Regions from separate parts of the Homo sapiens genome. Here all the other regions are linked to region 3. Evidence: promoter capture Hi-C in 16 types of primary human blood cells and fetal thymus (Javierre and others, 2016). All regions are on one chromosome and are shown on one strand. Each heading gives the region's core, a stretch centred on a gene start or on the middle of the fragment in contact. The rest is flanking DNA. Distances are from core to core; before and after follow the strand shown.

Region 1 (2,816 bases), core at 234-2,733, 980 kb after region 3:
AATGTTTAAATGCCCTCTGCTTATAGGTAGTATCGCCCTCCCACCCATGATTTGCATGTCTTTAGCACTCCAATTGCCCTTTTCCTTAGGCGTTTGTCACCCCCGTCTTCCTTCTTTCCCTGGGTATCCTGGCTATTAATACATTTTCTCAGGAGGGTTATAAGAATAGGGGGGAGGAGCTGTGGTTTGCTGTGGGGAGGGAGGGAGCGGGGGTTGGGAGAGTTGGGGGGGATGGGCTGGGGGGGGTCACGTCTTGATGATTCTTATGCAAACGACCTGATGGAAGAATGTGGGAGCTTTCGGTGTCTGCGGTGGGTTAGTGAGGGAGGTTGTTTATTTTTAATCTTTTTCCTCGTGCAGCTCGTTGGAATGACTTTCTTTATTTTAGTTGTAACAGTTGGAGGATAATGCAAAGGAAGACGCTGCCTGGGAATTCACCGTCTGTGGAAATGAGCCCCAGAGAGGAATAAAGCAGCCCTCACCTTGCTCTCCCCACCCGAACCCACTTTCCCCACCCGCCTCGGCCCCCACCCCAACACCACCATCACTCCCTTCCCTCCCCCCCACCTTTCCCCCTTTTCCACCCAGGTGTCGGACCAGGCGGTCCCCACTTCCACCCTGCACCCCTTCTTCCCCCCCTGCACCATGAACACCAATGTCTGCGTGGAGCCCGGGCCGAGCCCGGAGGCCCCGGGCTTGCCCAAGGAAAGCCACTTGCCCGAGGGGGCTCTGAACAGCCTTGTGGATTACAACTCGGAAATGGAGCGCTACCGCTCCTTTGCCACCTCCTTCTACAAGACCAACGGGGGCGCCTTCCCACAGGCGGCCAAGATCGCGCGCATCACCACCCCCATCTTCCCCAGCAGCGCCGCCGCCGCCGCGGCCGCCGCGCGCATCGGCATGTCCCCCTGGAACTGCGACAACGCGGCCACCGCCGCCGCCGCCACCGCCATGCTCTGGGGCAGCGGCGGGGGCGGGGGCGGCGGCGGGGGGGGTGGCGGCGGCGGCGGCGGCGGCGGAGGCGGGGGCGGGGGTGGTGGGGGCGGCAGGAAATCCTCCTCCGCCGCCGCCTCCTCCTCCGCCTCCTCCTCCTCGGCGATCCTCCCCGCCGGCGGTGGCGGCGGCGGCGGCGGCGGCGGCAGCAGGACCAGCATGCACCACCGAAACGACTCCCAGAGGCTGGGGAAAGCTGGCTGCCCGCCAGAGCCGTCGTTGCAAATGGCAAATACTAATTTCCTCTCCACCTTATCCCCTGAACACTGCAGACCTTTGGCGGGGGAATGCATGAACAAGCTCAAATGCGGCGCTGCTGAAGCAGAGATAATGAATCTCCCCGAGCGCGTGGGGACTTTTTCCGCTATCCCGGCTTTAGGGGGCATCTCATTACCTCCAGGGGTCATCGTCATGACAGCCCTTCACTCCCCCGCAGCAGCCTCAGCAGCCGTCACAGACAGTGCGTTTCAAATTGCCAATCTGGCAGACTGCCCGCAGAATCATTCCTCCTCCTCCTCGTCCTCCTCAGGGGGAGCTGGCGGAGCCAACCCAGCCAAGAAGAAGAGGAAAAGGTGTGGGGTCTGCGTGCCCTGCAAGAGGCTCATCAACTGTGGCGTCTGCAGCAGTTGCAGGAACCGCAAAACGGGACACCAGATCTGCAAATTTAGAAAATGTGAAGAGCTAAAGAAAAAACCTGGCACTTCACTAGAGGTCAGAGGAGATGATTTCTTGTTTCCCAGTCTCCCCCCTTCCCTCCTCACTCCCTCTCCCCTTCAGGGATTCTTGTCTGGCTTCAAGATGCAGTACCCCTTCTCAGAAGCTTCATTCAGGTGGTAAGAGTTGTAGGTGGTTTGCGAAAGGCTTGGCCTCTCCACCACCCGCACCAGCTGCACTTCACGTGACACCGCCCTTCTGATAGAGAGAGTGCCCTCCTTTTTATCCCTGGGGGAAAAATAATGTAATTGAAGAATCAGAAGTTTCACATTCAATATGCTCAATATTTTCCCTTGGTGGTTTAAAATGCCCCCTCCTCCTCATTAAAAAGGGTGGGGCATCTTGCCCAAAGGACTGGACACATCACATCCTATACAAGTTTACTGGCTAAGTTAGTGGCCCATTTATAACAGTGAGGACACAGTTTGTGGTACACAAGCCTGTTCTCATTAAAAAACCGGTAACAAACCACACAGCAGTATTCAATGAAGTTGAAACACCTGGATTCAGAAGGGGATTTCCTACCCTTTTCTAGAATCATTTTTCTACTCATCAAGGCAGAATGTTTTCTATTTTATTTTCTGCGTATCTGATATTTTTGGAGAAAGCTGAAACTGTGTAGGAAGCGGATTTCTACCTGCAAATTTTGAGGAGATGTGACTTAGAATAAAGGGATACAATTAGTTAATTTCAGGGCAGATAAGAGTGATTTTGTTTAAAAATTATTTTATGTGGTTTTAGAATGAATAATTTCTAAAACTCAGTTACAAAAAAAGTATTTCCCCTGGGCTCTGCATTGGACAAAGTAACCATTTTGTGGTTACAAAGTTGGTGTATACACCAAGCACAGTTTTGGTTGATACCTTATATGGTCAATAATAGTTTCTTTTACCTATAGGTCTTTAAAACAGATATTGTACAGATGCTCACTAAAGTAATTGTTAAATTAGGTTATGAATTATGCTAAATACAGAGATTGATACCTTTGATAAAAATTTTGTATTGTGTCCTGATCAAAACAAAAATGGGGAAAAATGAAAAATCACAGGTAAATGACTTTGGTGGTATATTAAACAAAGAAATCTGGACAAGTACTTATAGTTAGTCTC
Region 2 (2,700 bases), core at 199-2,698, 540 kb after region 3:
TGGCCAGGGTGCACTGTTCCTTACAGCACAGTCCCTCAGGGCTTTCCTTGGGTAGAGGAGGGAGTTCCCTGACCCCTTGTGCTTCCTGTGTGAGGTGACATCCCACCCTGCTTCAGCTCACTCTCCATGGGCTGCACCCGCTGTCTAACCAGTTCCAGTGAGATGAGCTGTGCACCTCAGTTGGAAATGCAGAAATCACCCACCTTCTGCGTTGATCTCGCTGGGAGCTACAGACCGGAGCTGTTCCTATTCAGACATCTTGCCAGCCACAATCCAACAGTGGCTTTAGTAAATAAGGAATTATTTTTTCCTACAGAGCAAGAAGTAAGAATATAGAAAATTGCTGGCATTGCTCCCATTGTTCATGATGCTGTCAAGGATATAGGCTCTTTCTACCTTGCATTCTCCTTCCTTCATTTGCTGGCTTTTTCCCCTTTGGCTGAAGGCCCCACGGTTTTTAATATGGCTACCACAACACCAGGCATCATATCCATGCAGGAAGAAGAAGAAAGAGGGAAGGGGAGAGTCCAGCTCCATTGGTCTCTTTTATTAGAAAATATCCCTCCTAGTTGCAAAGGAGAGTGAAAAAATGACTATATGGCAAAGGGAAAGAACATTGTGATTATCACCTTAGAATGGTTGTTCATCACCTCCTAGAGATGAGCACATTGCTCTTGTATACAGACAAGTTCTGATAGCAGAAACAGGGGAGATTAGTCATTGATTGGCAGTTTTTAGTCTTCCACTGTGGAGGAAGAAAATGGAATTGGTGGCAGTCTTGAAGGCCTTTTTGGTAGGTTTAGGAGTTTCAGCTTTATCAACAAATATGTAGTATTTAGTATGTGTCTCCAGTAATTGAATGTGTGTGTTGTCATAAACCATAAGATATTTCAAGAGTTTTAGGTTGAGTTATGTTTATAAAAATTTTTTATCATATTCTAGTTTTATGTACTAGAAAAAATACTTGTCAAATAGGCCTTACATAGGGAGGGTTTTTACAACTTACTTAGAAAAATAACCAGAAATGGTGGACCTATTTATCCACCAGAAGCCGGATGTATTCTGGAGCAGCCTATATGGTTTTAGAATTTCATCCAAATTTGATGCAAGGAGATGCAAGTACTCTCTACAACCTGGCAATGCCAAGTCCCCCAATACATGCCCTTAGTAGGATTTGTGAACACTTAGCCGACAAGTATATACTCAGTGTCTCATGTCTAAATGTGACACAAAAACAGCAATGAGATACTTTTGGAATGACATTTCATCTCATACACAGAATTTGCCTGACTATATGTAATTATGTTAATACTTCAAGTGTTCATTTAATTATCTTTCTGTTAAAATGTATTTAACTTATCATTAAAGTACCAATAATCTTTAGACCAATAAAGTAGATAGTAGGAGGTCTAAAATACAATGATTTATACTATTTTGGAAAAGAAAAATCCCTTTAAGGAAAGTGTTACAAATAAAATTTCTTTAACTCTTTAATCAGGTATTTTCCTACTTAGTGAATATTTATGTGTATGGAAATTCATCACAGGATTGCTTTTATGTCTTTGCTTTTAATACTTGGTGCTAAATTTTAGTGATTATGTAGATTGGTTAAAGTTTTGACCTTTTGGAAGTTTGTTTTCTTGTTGTTGTTATTGATTTTAATTACTTTGTAATAAATTCTAGATCTTTGTAAGATATGTGACCATTATTGGCATCAGTTTGTAAAAGCTATAAGCCATAGTGGTTTCCTTATATGCAAATGAAAGAATGCAGAGGTATACACAGAGCGATTCAGAGGCATATTCAGGAAAGGGGGAGATCATTACATCTTAACCTATTTCTATTTTACCATGTTCCTTTCCTGTGGGAAAACATGAAAATGTGGTGATTCATTAAGACATGTTAACCAGGAAGTAGAGTCCCTATGGCCATTTCACATCTAGAAGAAAAATTTTATAACTGTTGCTAAATAGATTTAATCAATAGGAACTAAGACTTGAGATAATGACAGATAAACAGAGGTACAAGTACTAGAGATATTGCCGTCAAAAATATTTGGTGATTTTTAACTGACCTCAAAGACCATCTACAAGCATTTTATTAGGATTCCTATGTTGTCATTCTCATATAACAACTTGATACCACCATTTCATGTAACATTATTCTGCCATATCTACTAGAAATTAAGAATTGTTGGGGGGCTAGCTAATGTGCTAGGTCCAGAATGTACATTTTTGGAGCAATCATATAAGGATCTAGCTATAAGGATTGTGGATCCATATGAATTCTGTAGGTCATCTCAAAATCTCTGCATATCTAACTTTATTTTTTTCTTTTCTTTCTCTCTTTCTCTCTCTCTCTTCCTTTCCTTTCTCTTTCTTTTTCTCTTTCCTCTTTCCTTTCCTTTCTCTCCACAGAGTCTAACTCTGTCACCTAAGCAGGAGTACAGTGGCATGAACATAGCTTGCTGCAGCTTCAAACTCCTATGCTCAAGTGGTTTTCCTGCCTCAGCTTCCTGAGTAACTAGGACTACAGGTGCGTGCCACCATGCCCAGCTAATTTTTGTATTTTTTGTAGAGATAAGATCTTACTATGTTACCCAGGATGGTCTTGAAGTCCTGGCTTCAAGTGATCATCCAGCCTTGGTCTCCTAAAGTACTGGGATTACAGGCATGAGCTACCATGCCTGGCCGGGATATC
Region 3 (2,890 bases), core at 1-2,500:
TTATGGGAGCATTTGCCTTATAGTTATGCCTATTCAAGTTGACACATTACAAAGGTACCACTGTTGACAAAAACATTTTAGGATCTATAATCTTAGTAGAGTGTCTCTAAGTAGCTAGTCACAATATCTCCTAGGAATCCTTTCTGGAACTTGGGTAGACCAGTATCTCAATTTTAATGATCACACGATAATTGGAGATGCTGAAAGAACCTGGGTGCCCAGTAGGAAAGTAGCCTAGATGATGATAGTCCCAAAGAAGATGGACTAGAAAAAAATAAAATGACACGTGGCAGACTACTGGTTGTTCTACAATATCCATTCTCCTGGATACTGGCCCAAACCATCCTCCTATCTCAGCCTCCCAAGTAGCTGGAACTACAGGCGTGTGTGCCACCCCGCCTGGCCGATGCGCGGTGGCTCACGCCTGTAATCCCAGGACTTTGGGAGGCCAACGCAGGCGGATCAATGGAGGTCGGGAGTTCGAGACCAGTCTGACCAACATGGGGAAACTGTCTCTACTAAAAATACAAAAATTAGCTAGGCGTCGTGACGCATGCCTGTAATCCCAGTTACTCAGGAGGCTAAGGCAGGAGAATAGCTTGAACCCAGGAGGCGGAGGTTGCAGTGAGCCGAGATTGTACCATTGCATTCCAGCCCAGGCAACAGTGTGAGACTCCGTCTCAAAAACAAAACAACAACAAAAAATAATAAAATAAAAGAAAGAATAAATAATCTCTACTGGGTTAGGAAATGGCCTTATGGAGAAGATGGCATTTGAGTAAGCTACTTAGGGTTTTTTGCTCTGTAAGTCGGTGTCAACGTCCCGTTTTCACGTGGTGGCCTGATCATTTTGTCTTATAGTGATGTCTTTGCGTGCATGTGCGCTCATCTCCTATATTGGACAGGGTCTAGAGCAGTTCCTGGCACAGAGTAATCACTCAATATTACATCACTATACTAAAAAATCATGATAGTAATTCTTGACGGGATAAATGAAGGCATGAATAAATGTATGAATTAACGAGTGGCAGTGAGCTCTTCAGGGGTGGTGGGTCTTGTCTCACTCGTCTTTGAGCTGCGGCCTCGCTGAGGGCATAGTGCGCACAACTGGCTGGTGTTCCAGATTCCACTGGCAGGGACCAGGATCGCAGCCCGAGCGCCGGGGCGGGAGGGATGACTCCGGACGGTAGGGGGCACCGGCGTGCGGCCCGGCCGAGCCCCCAGGTAGCTCCGCGCGCACAGCAGGACCGTCATTGACGCCATGAGCGCGCTGCTGCGGCTGCTGCGCACGGGTGCCCCAGCCGCTGCGTGCCTGCGGTTGGGGACCAGTGCAGGGACCGGGTCGCGCCGTGCTATGGCCCTGTACCACACTGAGGAGCGCGGCCAGCCCTGCTCGCAGAATTACCGCCTCTTCTTTAGTAAGTAGCTCCCGGAGGTTCGCCGAGCGGCGCACCGGAGAAACCTGGGTGGGGGATGGAATGGGGGACACTTGGGACGCCCCGCGCGGTCTCCCTTCTCTCTTTTTGGGGCCCTCAGCGGTAGCCGCGCGGTCCAGGCCACCTTACTTCCCGCGGGAGCGCGCACCGAGTCACGAGAACTGCCAGCGAGGAGGCGGCGGATCAAGACCCCAAAGCGGAGAGCAGAGGCGCAGGGCTGCCGGCTGGGGGGTAGATAGCGCCCTGTGCCCTGCCAGCCGCCCTCCCCGAGGGGTAGGCAGAGTGCAAGCGGCCACCCCGCGGCGGCCTGCAGCCATTAGCCGGCCCGGCCGCCGTTCCCGGTTCACACAACTCAGTGAGGAAGGGAAGGCAGAGCCCGCCCACACGCCGGCCTTCCTAGAGGCGTAAGAAACCTCCTACTGCGGGAGCTCCCTGACGTCGGAGAGGCAGGCGGAACTTTGCGGATGCCTAATCCAGCGCGTCTTCTTTTTTTGGAGGGACTCTGATGAAGGTTCTTTCCCCAGAAGCTTGACTTGGTACGCACAAGTTTACACCCTGAGTGTGATCCACCATCCAAAGCCTCGTTGGTTCCGGAGCAGCCCCTTTTCCTCCCCAAGCTGAACAAGCCCAGAAGGCTAAGCGACTTCGGGGGGGTCCCTGAGTTGCCGAGCTCAGAGAAAGGACCCAGGTCTTCGTGACTCATTGTTCCGTGTACCCCATTGTTTCACTGTGTACGTTAACCGTAACAGAAAATAGCGATGTCGGTCGCTTGCCTTCACTCCCCACTGACTGCAGAGCCTTGGAGTGGTAGTATCAAAGTGGGCCTTGCATTATCGCTCCCCTTTTCGGAGCACTGGCTCTGGAGGCTTTCAGTTCTAAGCAGGCCCTCGAGTTCTTCACGTCTTAACTCTGTGACCCCGGACGAGTTTAAGTTGCTAAGCCTTGTTTTTTCTCATCCGTAAAATAGGGCTGCAAGTATTACATGACATTATATATGTAAACTGATTAGTCACAGGGCCTAAAATATAAATTACTATTGTTAATACCGATAATCATTATAGATATTTGTAATTTATGAGAGATTTGCAGTTATGCTACATGAGTTTAGGGTCGAGGATTATTTTGTGGGAAAGAAGAGTTTGCCTAAAGTCGTGTGATTATAATGCAACTAGTACTAGAATTTCTATTTTCTTCAAAATTGGTTGCAGTTTTCACCCTATGCCACATATTTTCTTCTATCTTTGGTTAAGACTGATCAGGTGAACAGGAAGTCTCAAATTTCTGAATGGATTATGTTCTAAAAGGTTACCATGTGATGATTAATGGGAATAGTCAGAAAAAATTATGAAGTGGCAGTTCGCTTTTTAAGCAGATTGAAAAAAGGCCTGTCTACTGCAAGTATTCTAGATTTGCAATAAGTACGGTAATTAATAGATACCCAAATAATAAATATT
Region 4 (2,700 bases), core at 92-2,591, 560 kb after region 3:
ATTCTTTAAGTATTCAGAAGCTGTCAAGCTCACAGTAGTGGATACAAGTTTTCCAAAATTCTAATTTTCAGTTGAAAGCTCAGATTTTATCATTGGCACCAAATACCGTCAGGTTGTTTGCCTTCAAGTGACAGGCTCACTTCACTTATTTTCAAGAAAATGACTGCCAAATATCCAAGTATGAATAACCATATTTTGTTTATCACTTGTTCTTTCAAGCAAAAGTGGTATTCCACGAAAAAGAGACAAGTTCAGTTTGCAACTCAAACAATCACACATTGCTTTTCCTCAAGACAACCATTGTACTTGGGTATGCAGCAGAAGTGCTTTATGTGTTCTTTCCTTGTAGTCCCACAGAATACTTAAAAGATTTGTAACTCAAGTGTTGAGCTTTAAGAAAATGCATAAATTTTAACTGTTTCATTAGGGTATTCTTAAGCAAAACTTTTTAAACCTGTGAGATCATGGTGATGAAAGTGATGCAATGACATAATAAAATGATATGATACAATTTGGTAATTTTGCCTTGATTTATGCTAAAGAACTGATATGGTTTTGCTGTGTCACAACCCAAATCTCATCTTGAATTGTAGCTCCCACAATGCCCACATGTCATGGGAGGGACCTAGTGAGAGGTAATTGAATGATGGGGGTGAGTCTTTCTCATGACAGTGAATAAGTCTTATGAGATCTGATGGTTTTATAAAGAGGAGGTCCCCTGCAGAAGCTCTCTTTTTCTTGACTGTTGCCATCCATGTAAGACATGACTTGCTCCTCCTTGCCGTCTACCGTGATTTGTGAGGCCTCCCCAGTCATGTGGAACTGTGAGTCTATTAAACCTCATTTCTTTATAAATTACCCGGTCTCAGGTATGTCTTTATTAACAACATGATAACAGATGAATACAAGCACCAACAGTTTTACTCACCATTGCTTTGGCACCATTGGTGCAAATGTCAATACAGTAGAAAAAGCAAATACATCTTAATATTATTATGAAAATAATTTTGACCTCATGGATCCACTAAAAGAGTCTTTGGGATTTCCAGAATTGTGCAGATTATGCTTTGAAAACTGCTGCTTGTGGGGACTGGTTTTAAAAGAACCACAGTGTTACTGTGTCATAGCTCTTATTGGCTTCCTTTGGTAAGGTGTTTCAAGAAAGAGATGAACTCAGACAGAAATGGCTAGTTTCCAAGCCAGATGGAAAACAATAGAAAGTATCCAGACTTGAGTGAACGATGGTGGAAATCCATCTGCTTCTAGATCCCACACAGAACCACAAGGCCCAGAAAGACTTTTTAGCTGAACACTATGACTTAGATACAGATCAGATTAATGGCCAAAGAGAGCTGGAGAGAGAGAGAGAGAAAAAAAAAAAAGGAGAAAAGACCTGAGAATTGTACATAGAAGCAAATACAACAGAAGCCTACCAAGATTTTGAAGAACTTGTATTGTCAAGAAATCCAAAATATCTGATTAAAACAGCTTTGTCTGACCTTTAAAATCACCTTTTTACTTTGGCTACACTCATTTCAGCTGTGTCCAAAAGGAATAAATAAACAATAAGAACTTCTAAAGGGAAAGGCTGAGGGTCAAACAAGAAAAAGACAAAAGACTTATTTCCAGAGAGCAGAATTAAAATCTAATCCACAAATTTATCCTCTCCCCAGGCTAGGGGACATCTCGAGGCCTGCCAAACAGGATTGTAGAATTGTAGTGGCCTAGTGAACATGTACATCCTCTGATTCCCTTTTTTGAATGGGAATTTTAATTGTAGTTACGCTGTCCCTGCTCCACCACTGTATATACAGCAAGCCCATAACCAAACTCCACTCTCCCTTCCCTCACCTGCCTGCCAGATACAAGGGTTTGGGGGAAATTTTAAGCTACTAGGGGGTGGTATAACTACTAGAAGGAAGAAGCCTGGTCACCTGAATGAAGCAGATCCTGTCCACCAACCTGTGCTGGATTGTGACATGAACAAGAAATACATGTTTATTGTGCTAAACCACTGAGATTTTGGTTCCAGCATTTGCCACAAACATTCTTTATCACAACACTGAGAAGACTCTGAATAATATGGAGGCTATTCCATTGATCTGCCCGGAGGAACTGAACTATGGCAGTGGCAGAAATAAGAAGAAATACATATTTTAGAGGTAGAACCAATAAGCTATCACTAGTGGGATAGCAGAGCAGAATGAGGTAGAGTAAGGAGTCTGGGATGTGTTCCAGCTTTCTATCTTGGGTTAAAGTGGGTGGAGTTTTGGATGGCACTCAGAACAACCCAGTGAATTTATCCAATAGGCAGGAGCTTGGGACAGAGATGTGGAAAGCAGGCACATATAGGGCAATCATCAGCTTATAGGTGATGGTTGAAGCCATGAGGCAGGAGGAATAGTGGATAAAATATTTTGGGAAGACAGTTCAGAGGGAGAAGAGCACAGAGGTCGCTTAATGAACAGCAGAGAGAGCAGTCTGCAAAAGAGTGAAAAATGGACCCCTAGAAAGGAAAAAAAAAAGGCAGAAAAGGATAGGTCACAGAAACCAAAATAGAATTAAAGAGCACTTTAAAAACACTTTAAACACTTTAAATTAAAAGAACACTTTTAAGAACTGTGAAATGATAAACAATCAAATATGTCAAAAAGGTGAAATATAATCAGAGCTAAATATTTATGAAATTTTAGAATTAAA
Region 5 (2,700 bases), core at 83-2,582, 610 kb after region 3:
ATAAATACAATATGTTCTTCAAATTTCTCTACATGGAATAAGAATAGAGCTTGCAATTTTTTTTTTGTATTTAACTGATAGTGTTTATGGATAGCATTTAACTGATAGCATTTTCAGAACAATGGGTTGAGTTGAGGGGTGCTGTGGCAACCATTATATGGAGCCAGGCTACTGATCTGTACACAGAATGGCCTCCTAGTCTTGGCAAAGCTTTGAACCTCATGAGTGGGCCAGCTAATAGAACACGCCAAGAGACCATAGTCTAGCTGCTGCTGGAGAGCTTATATTGACTGCTGACGTTGATAATTATTCTGTTAACTTATATCGAGAAATACTTCCTCTCTAAAACCCCTAACACAGAGCAAGAATTATAATATCTACATCATTTTAGTACATTCCACAAAATAACAAGTCATGTACTGTATGAGTTAACTGTTCCATGTCCTCTAAGCACTTAGGTGGAAACTTGGTGACCCCCAAATATACTGGAAAATATTTTTTTCCCTGAACTTTTCTGTAAGAATTCTTAGAAGGTAGAGTGTCTGATTAATATTCTAGCATAGCAATACAAGTTTAGAGCCCTTAGTTGTGTGGAAAATATCTTAGGAGAAAACTGTCACAGAGATTTAACCCTTGGGATAGTATTTAGAGTGGAAACAAAATAATTACCTAGAGTGTTAGAACATTTTCCTGATCTTAAGTTTCTTTGAAAATAATATATTTTGAGGTCAGTAAGTCAGAGACTTCTAAGAAATAATCGAGAGGACCCAAGTTTGATGCTCACTGGCTGTTGCTTACAATTTTAAACAAGATAGTGATTAAGCTCTGTACAAAAAAATATAAAGCTATATCATTAGAAGAAGCTTTGTCTTGGGTTCGTGAAATGTTTTGAAATAATGTTTGCAATGAGTAAACTAGTTTCATATTGGCATTGTGATATAAAGCCTTCTTTAAAACAAATAAGCAAACAAACAAACACATACCCCTTAGGCTTGATACGTGTAAATGGTAGTTTAGAAGATGCCTTCCTTTTAAATCCTATTTGGCCAGAGAAAAAGGCTGCAGTTCTACACATTTCCAGCAGGGGTCAATATGCTTTCATCATTACTGAATGCTCAGTGAGCAAGCAGCAGAAGTGTTGATCCTAATTGGAGCAGACACAAGGATCTTCTATAATCCTCTGACATCCTTTTCAAATAATAATTCTTAGGTGGGTGGTGGGCTGGTGGCTGCAATGCCAGTGCAGGCTTCTCTACAATGAAGCCTAACCATTGTCAATTATTTTTGATGTATGCTAGCTTAACTTAAGTCTCTTCTTCCTGGCTTTTCCAACCCACAGAAGGGTATTCTTCCTCCTAATTATTGTCACAGTACCTAGGATGGTCAGAACAAGTGTGTTATTTTGGCTTGATGTGCTCTCCAAAACCCATTCCTTTCCTTTCCTGCCTCTCTGTGCTCTTCCTACAAAGTACGAAGAGCAAGCATATACTTTCAGTCAAATATCTGAGGAGTATTTTACTTATAACCTTAATTGCCATAGTCATTGGACTTTAACTCATTAAATGCCAGCATTTGGAGGCAACTGGAGATATGATAATGAGTATATATGATTATAGTTGCATATATATAGCTTCCAGTAGGTTAATAATTGGGACTAAATCCTCCTCCACCCACACACTTTCTAATAATTTGTTCAGGGGCTCTGCCAGCCAGTGATATTCAGGGAACAAATTGTCATCCTTTATGTGCATTTTAAAGACTGGCGTTTGCTGGAGACTCACACTGTCGTGCAGAAGCTTGAGTTCTCTGAGTCAAAAAAAAAAAAAACAAAAAAAAAAACAATGTATGTCCTGCCCCACATTCGTAAGCTCATATTTTACTCTCCTTGGCCCTGACTACAGCCCTTTCTGCTGAGCGGGGAAGCGAATGTCTCTGTGTAGAGACATTTTCAGAAATCCGATTCTGGAGAGCTGAGGAGTGTTGCGGCAGGAATGTATTACCAGGACACTTAGAAGGTGGTTAACTGCTTGAGTGCTGCTGCCTGCACTAGAGAGAGAAGGGAGGGACCGCAGTTGTAATATAGCTCCAGCTCCACTCAGCTTAGCCAAAGTGGGGTTTTAAAGCGGTGCCCTCATATATCTCTGTAGGTAGTCGGGGGTGGGGGTGTCATTTGCAAGGTAAAACATAGGTAAAAAGTAAGGACAGAGTTAGCACGGCAAAAGCAGCAGTTATTTATCTTGAACTAGGTTCACAGGGATTGAGATAATTTTCCACTTATATAGAGCTTGAGAGGCTCCTAAAAATAAATATTCTATCACAGATTTCAGTCAGATAGAAAGGAATATATTCATTCCTACATGTAGGTACATTTTAAATGTTCTCTTTAAAATTGTGGAGATTTCTTTTGCTTTCAGAGATTACCAGTACCCTTTAATGAATCAATAATAAAAACAAATTCATTTATCTCTGTTATTTGCAAATCTTGCTTTAAAATTCATATTTAAGCAAAGCAAGTGATGAAATTCTTTGATGGGACTACTCCTTATCTCCTTTACTTTAATTCTATGTTTACTTTAAAAACAAAACTTACATACCTTCCTCAAATTTAGAGTAAGGTATGAGGCATAAATGTAAGTTGATGGAGAGGACAGCAGCTATTTCAGCTTGGGTCTGACAGCCATCTGACAGGTGATACTCTAT
Region 6 (2,700 bases), core at 161-2,660, 520 kb after region 3:
TAGATACATGTGGCCTGAAGTTTTGATGATTGGAAAAAACAAGCATTGCTGTTTTTTTTCCTTCCAATTTGGAAAGGTATCATATATTTTTAACTTGAGACCCCTTAGTATAAATAAAATGCATCCTTGCTTTTTACCACATTCTTCATTCTAATATATAAGGTGCTAGTGTGCAGAAGGGAATATGAAATCAGGTATGATTCCAAAAATGCATATGCAAGACACATGGATAAAATCATAAAATTACACTAGAACCAATTCTAACTCCTACATGACTAGAATCTATGGAACATGGTTATGTGTCTCCTGGTTAAGTATCAACCACCCTCTGGATGTAGTTTTAGTGAAGTTTATATCCCTATAATTGTTGTTTGATAGGTAGATTTTACCTTTTGTGGATAAGTATGCTCTGTGATCAGAATTAAAGGTGTGTTCATCATTACTTTTATCTGATTTTTCACTTTGTCAAAGAAGATTAGAATAGCATGTGGAACTTGATTCAACTGTGATATTTTGATATATTAAGAAATATATATTTGGGTTTTATCCCTAGTTTCTGGCATAGAACTTCTAAAAGCCTTGGAATTTCCCTAGTGATGGGAGTAAGAGTAGTTTCTTATTCATAATAAGCTCCTGTCACATACCTGAGTTTATGCTAATAAGACGACCTGTGGTGGGTCCCTAGATAGCTTCAGGATGGGAGCTGGTTGCCAGACGAAACAACCATATGATTAAAGGGTTGGAACTTTGAGCCCAGCCCCTGACCCCTGGAGAGAGGAGAAAGGCTGGAGATTGAATTAATCACAAATGGTTAATAACTCAGTCAATCTCATGTATTCATAGGGGAATCTCATGTATTCATAGGGGAATCTCCATAAAACTCCTAAACAATGGTATTTAAGGAGATTCTGGCTTAGAGCTGTTCAAGTAAATTATTGAGCCTGAGGAGGGGGTCATGGAAACTCTTGATTTATAGTCCATTGAACAGAACTATAGGAGACTCAGGACTTGCATTGGTATCTGAAGTGAGGGTAGTCTTGTGGGACTGAGTAGGGTCTGTATTAACTCTGGTTAGTTAGTGCTAAAAATAAATGGAATCATTGGATACCCAGTTGGTGTCTGGAGAGTTAGAGAATTAGTTGTTGGTATGGGAAAAACAAAACAAAACAAAACTATGCATTTGATGTCAGAAATATGGGTAGAAACAGACCATGGTATCAATAATACTGATTTCTTCCAAGAATCATCCCCTTAAAGGGTTTACAAATGGATAAAATTGATATTTTCCTAATTATTCTCATTTAGAGATATTGTTTCAAACTCACAGATATTCATTTCCTCTTTAAGATAAATTAGCAATGAGTGAACTCTTTCTCAGTTTTCTAGCTCTTCCTCTAATAATCATCTTCACTCCAAAATGGTAGCTAGTGGCCTGTCTATGAGATACATTTTTAAAAATATGATTGGATTTAAAATACATTGCCTATTTTATGTGCTGGATTTATGTAATAACCACCATTTATTGAGTGCTATAGACTGGTCACTGCGTTTTAATCTTCAATTCTGAGTTAAGTAGCATTATCCCCATTTTGCAACTGAAAAGACTGATGATTGGAGTGGTTAAGTAACCTGCCTAGTGTCATTAGTAAGTAAGAGGGATTTTCTGAAGAGGTGGAAGTGAATATTGATGGGAAAGGGAAAGGTGATCAGGCAGATGCTATGGTCTGAACGTATCTCCCAAGATTTGTATGTTGAAACTTAACTTGCCATGGTGGAGCCCTTAGGGATGGGATGAGTGCCTTTATAAAAGAGGTACCAGGGAACTGTCACCCTCACTTTTTGCTCTTCTGCCTTAGGTGAGGACATGGCAAGAAGGACCTCACCAGACACCAAATGCCAACACCATAATTTTGGACTTCCCAACTTCTAGAACTGTAGAAAATACTGCCCAGTCTCACGTATTTTGTTAAAGAAACACAAACAGACTGAGACAACAAATGAGTAGAAGTTAGTGTGAAGGGCAGTAAGAAGAACTGGCCATATTTAGTCTGAGGTATATTGAGTTGAGAACATGTTACTTATCTTCAGTTAACTAAATTTTGGGGCTTATAGTTCTTCTTGCGTAATTCCAAAGGGAAGAAAAATGGTGAGTGTATTTTTGCTTGCATATAATGATATAGAGGAAAATATACTTCTAGGAAGCAGAATTCTATACTCATTTTCACCCCATCCATAAGATGCCCACATATAAGTTTTCCGAAGAAGGACTTATTAATTGTAATTGTCATAAGATGACTGGATAGGATCATCGCAGACAACTTTTTCTCTAAAAGTGTTTAAATAGACGCCAGACTAATTGCAAATAATGTTATAGAAAATATTAGATTTAGAGGTTTGGATAAATAGACCTTAGATTCTATGAAAGTAAGGATATAGAGCGTGTTTTAAAACAATAATAGTTAAAAAAAAAATGGTTTCTGAGCTGGGTGCCGTGGCTCACCCTTGTAATCCCAACACTTTGGGAGGCTGAGACAGGTGGATCACAAAGTCAGGAGTTCGAGACAAGCCTGGCCAACATGGTGAAACCCTGTCTCTACTAAAAATACAAAAATTAGCTGGGCATGGTGGCATGCACCTGTAGTACCAGCTACTAGAGAGGCTGAGGCAGGAGAATCACTTGAACCCGGGAGGTGAAGGTTG

The links. The method cuts DNA at HindIII sites, captures the fragments that hold promoters and counts their contacts. A CHiCAGO score of 5 or more calls a contact.
Region 1: the fragment with the promoter of CXXC4-AS1 here is called in contact with the fragment with the promoter of PPA2 in region 3 in 4 of 17 cell types (naive CD8 T cells, megakaryocytes, total CD8 T cells and 1 more); the score reaches 11.1 in naive CD8 T cells.
Region 2: a contact is called between a fragment that was not itself captured here and the fragment with the promoter of PPA2 in region 3, in 7 of 17 cell types (fetal thymus, M2 macrophages, M1 macrophages and 4 more). The highest score is 13.2, in fetal thymus.
Region 4: a contact is called between a fragment that was not itself captured here and the fragment with the promoter of PPA2 in region 3, in 2 of 17 cell types (neutrophils and megakaryocytes). The highest score is 5.2, in neutrophils.
Region 5: a contact is called between a fragment that was not itself captured here and the fragment with the promoter of PPA2 in region 3, in 4 of 17 cell types (fetal thymus, M0 macrophages, M2 macrophages and 1 more). The highest score is 10.2, in fetal thymus.
Region 6: a fragment that was not itself captured here is called in contact with the fragment with the promoter of PPA2 in region 3 in 1 of 17 cell types (naive CD8 T cells); the score reaches 5.1 in naive CD8 T cells.

Annotation. Positions count from the first base shown.
Region 1 is chr4:104,489,632-104,492,447 of GRCh38, reverse strand. It overlaps CXXC4-AS1 (CXXC4 antisense RNA 1), which reads right to left and starts at 1,483. Exons shown (of 10, transcript NR_125926.1): 1 at 1,388-1,483. CXXC4 (CXXC finger protein 4) reads left to right here. Exons shown (of 3, transcript NM_025212.4): 2 at 389-1,704. The coding sequence starts at 646. RefSeq lists an enhancer at 67-116. The HindIII fragment of the contact is 2,978 bases long and covers 1-1,815 here.
Region 2 is chr4:104,927,830-104,930,529 of GRCh38, reverse strand. No RefSeq gene overlaps it. Among named protein-coding and RNA genes, the nearest start is that of TET2, 220 kb to the left of the region's middle. The HindIII fragment of the contact is 4,532 bases long and covers 1-2,700 here.
Region 3 is chr4:105,472,422-105,475,311 of GRCh38, reverse strand. It overlaps PPA2 (inorganic pyrophosphatase 2), which reads left to right and starts at 1,250. Exons shown (of 12, transcript NM_176869.3): 1 at 1,250-1,418. The coding sequence starts at 1,262. RefSeq lists a silencer at 1,060-1,269 and enhancers at 1,490-1,609, 1,900-2,069. The HindIII fragment of the contact is 2,034 bases long and covers 1-1,965 here.
Region 4 is chr4:104,911,136-104,913,835 of GRCh38, reverse strand. No RefSeq gene overlaps it. Among named protein-coding and RNA genes, the nearest start is that of TET2, 230 kb to the left of the region's middle. The HindIII fragment of the contact is 7,130 bases long and covers 1-2,700 here.
Region 5 is chr4:104,859,100-104,861,799 of GRCh38, reverse strand. No RefSeq gene overlaps it. Among named protein-coding and RNA genes, the nearest start is that of TET2, 290 kb to the left of the region's middle. The HindIII fragment of the contact is 933 bases long and covers 866-1,798 here.
Region 6 is chr4:104,951,904-104,954,603 of GRCh38, reverse strand. No RefSeq gene overlaps it. Among named protein-coding and RNA genes, the nearest start is that of TET2, 190 kb to the left of the region's middle. The HindIII fragment of the contact is 4,868 bases long and covers 1-2,700 here.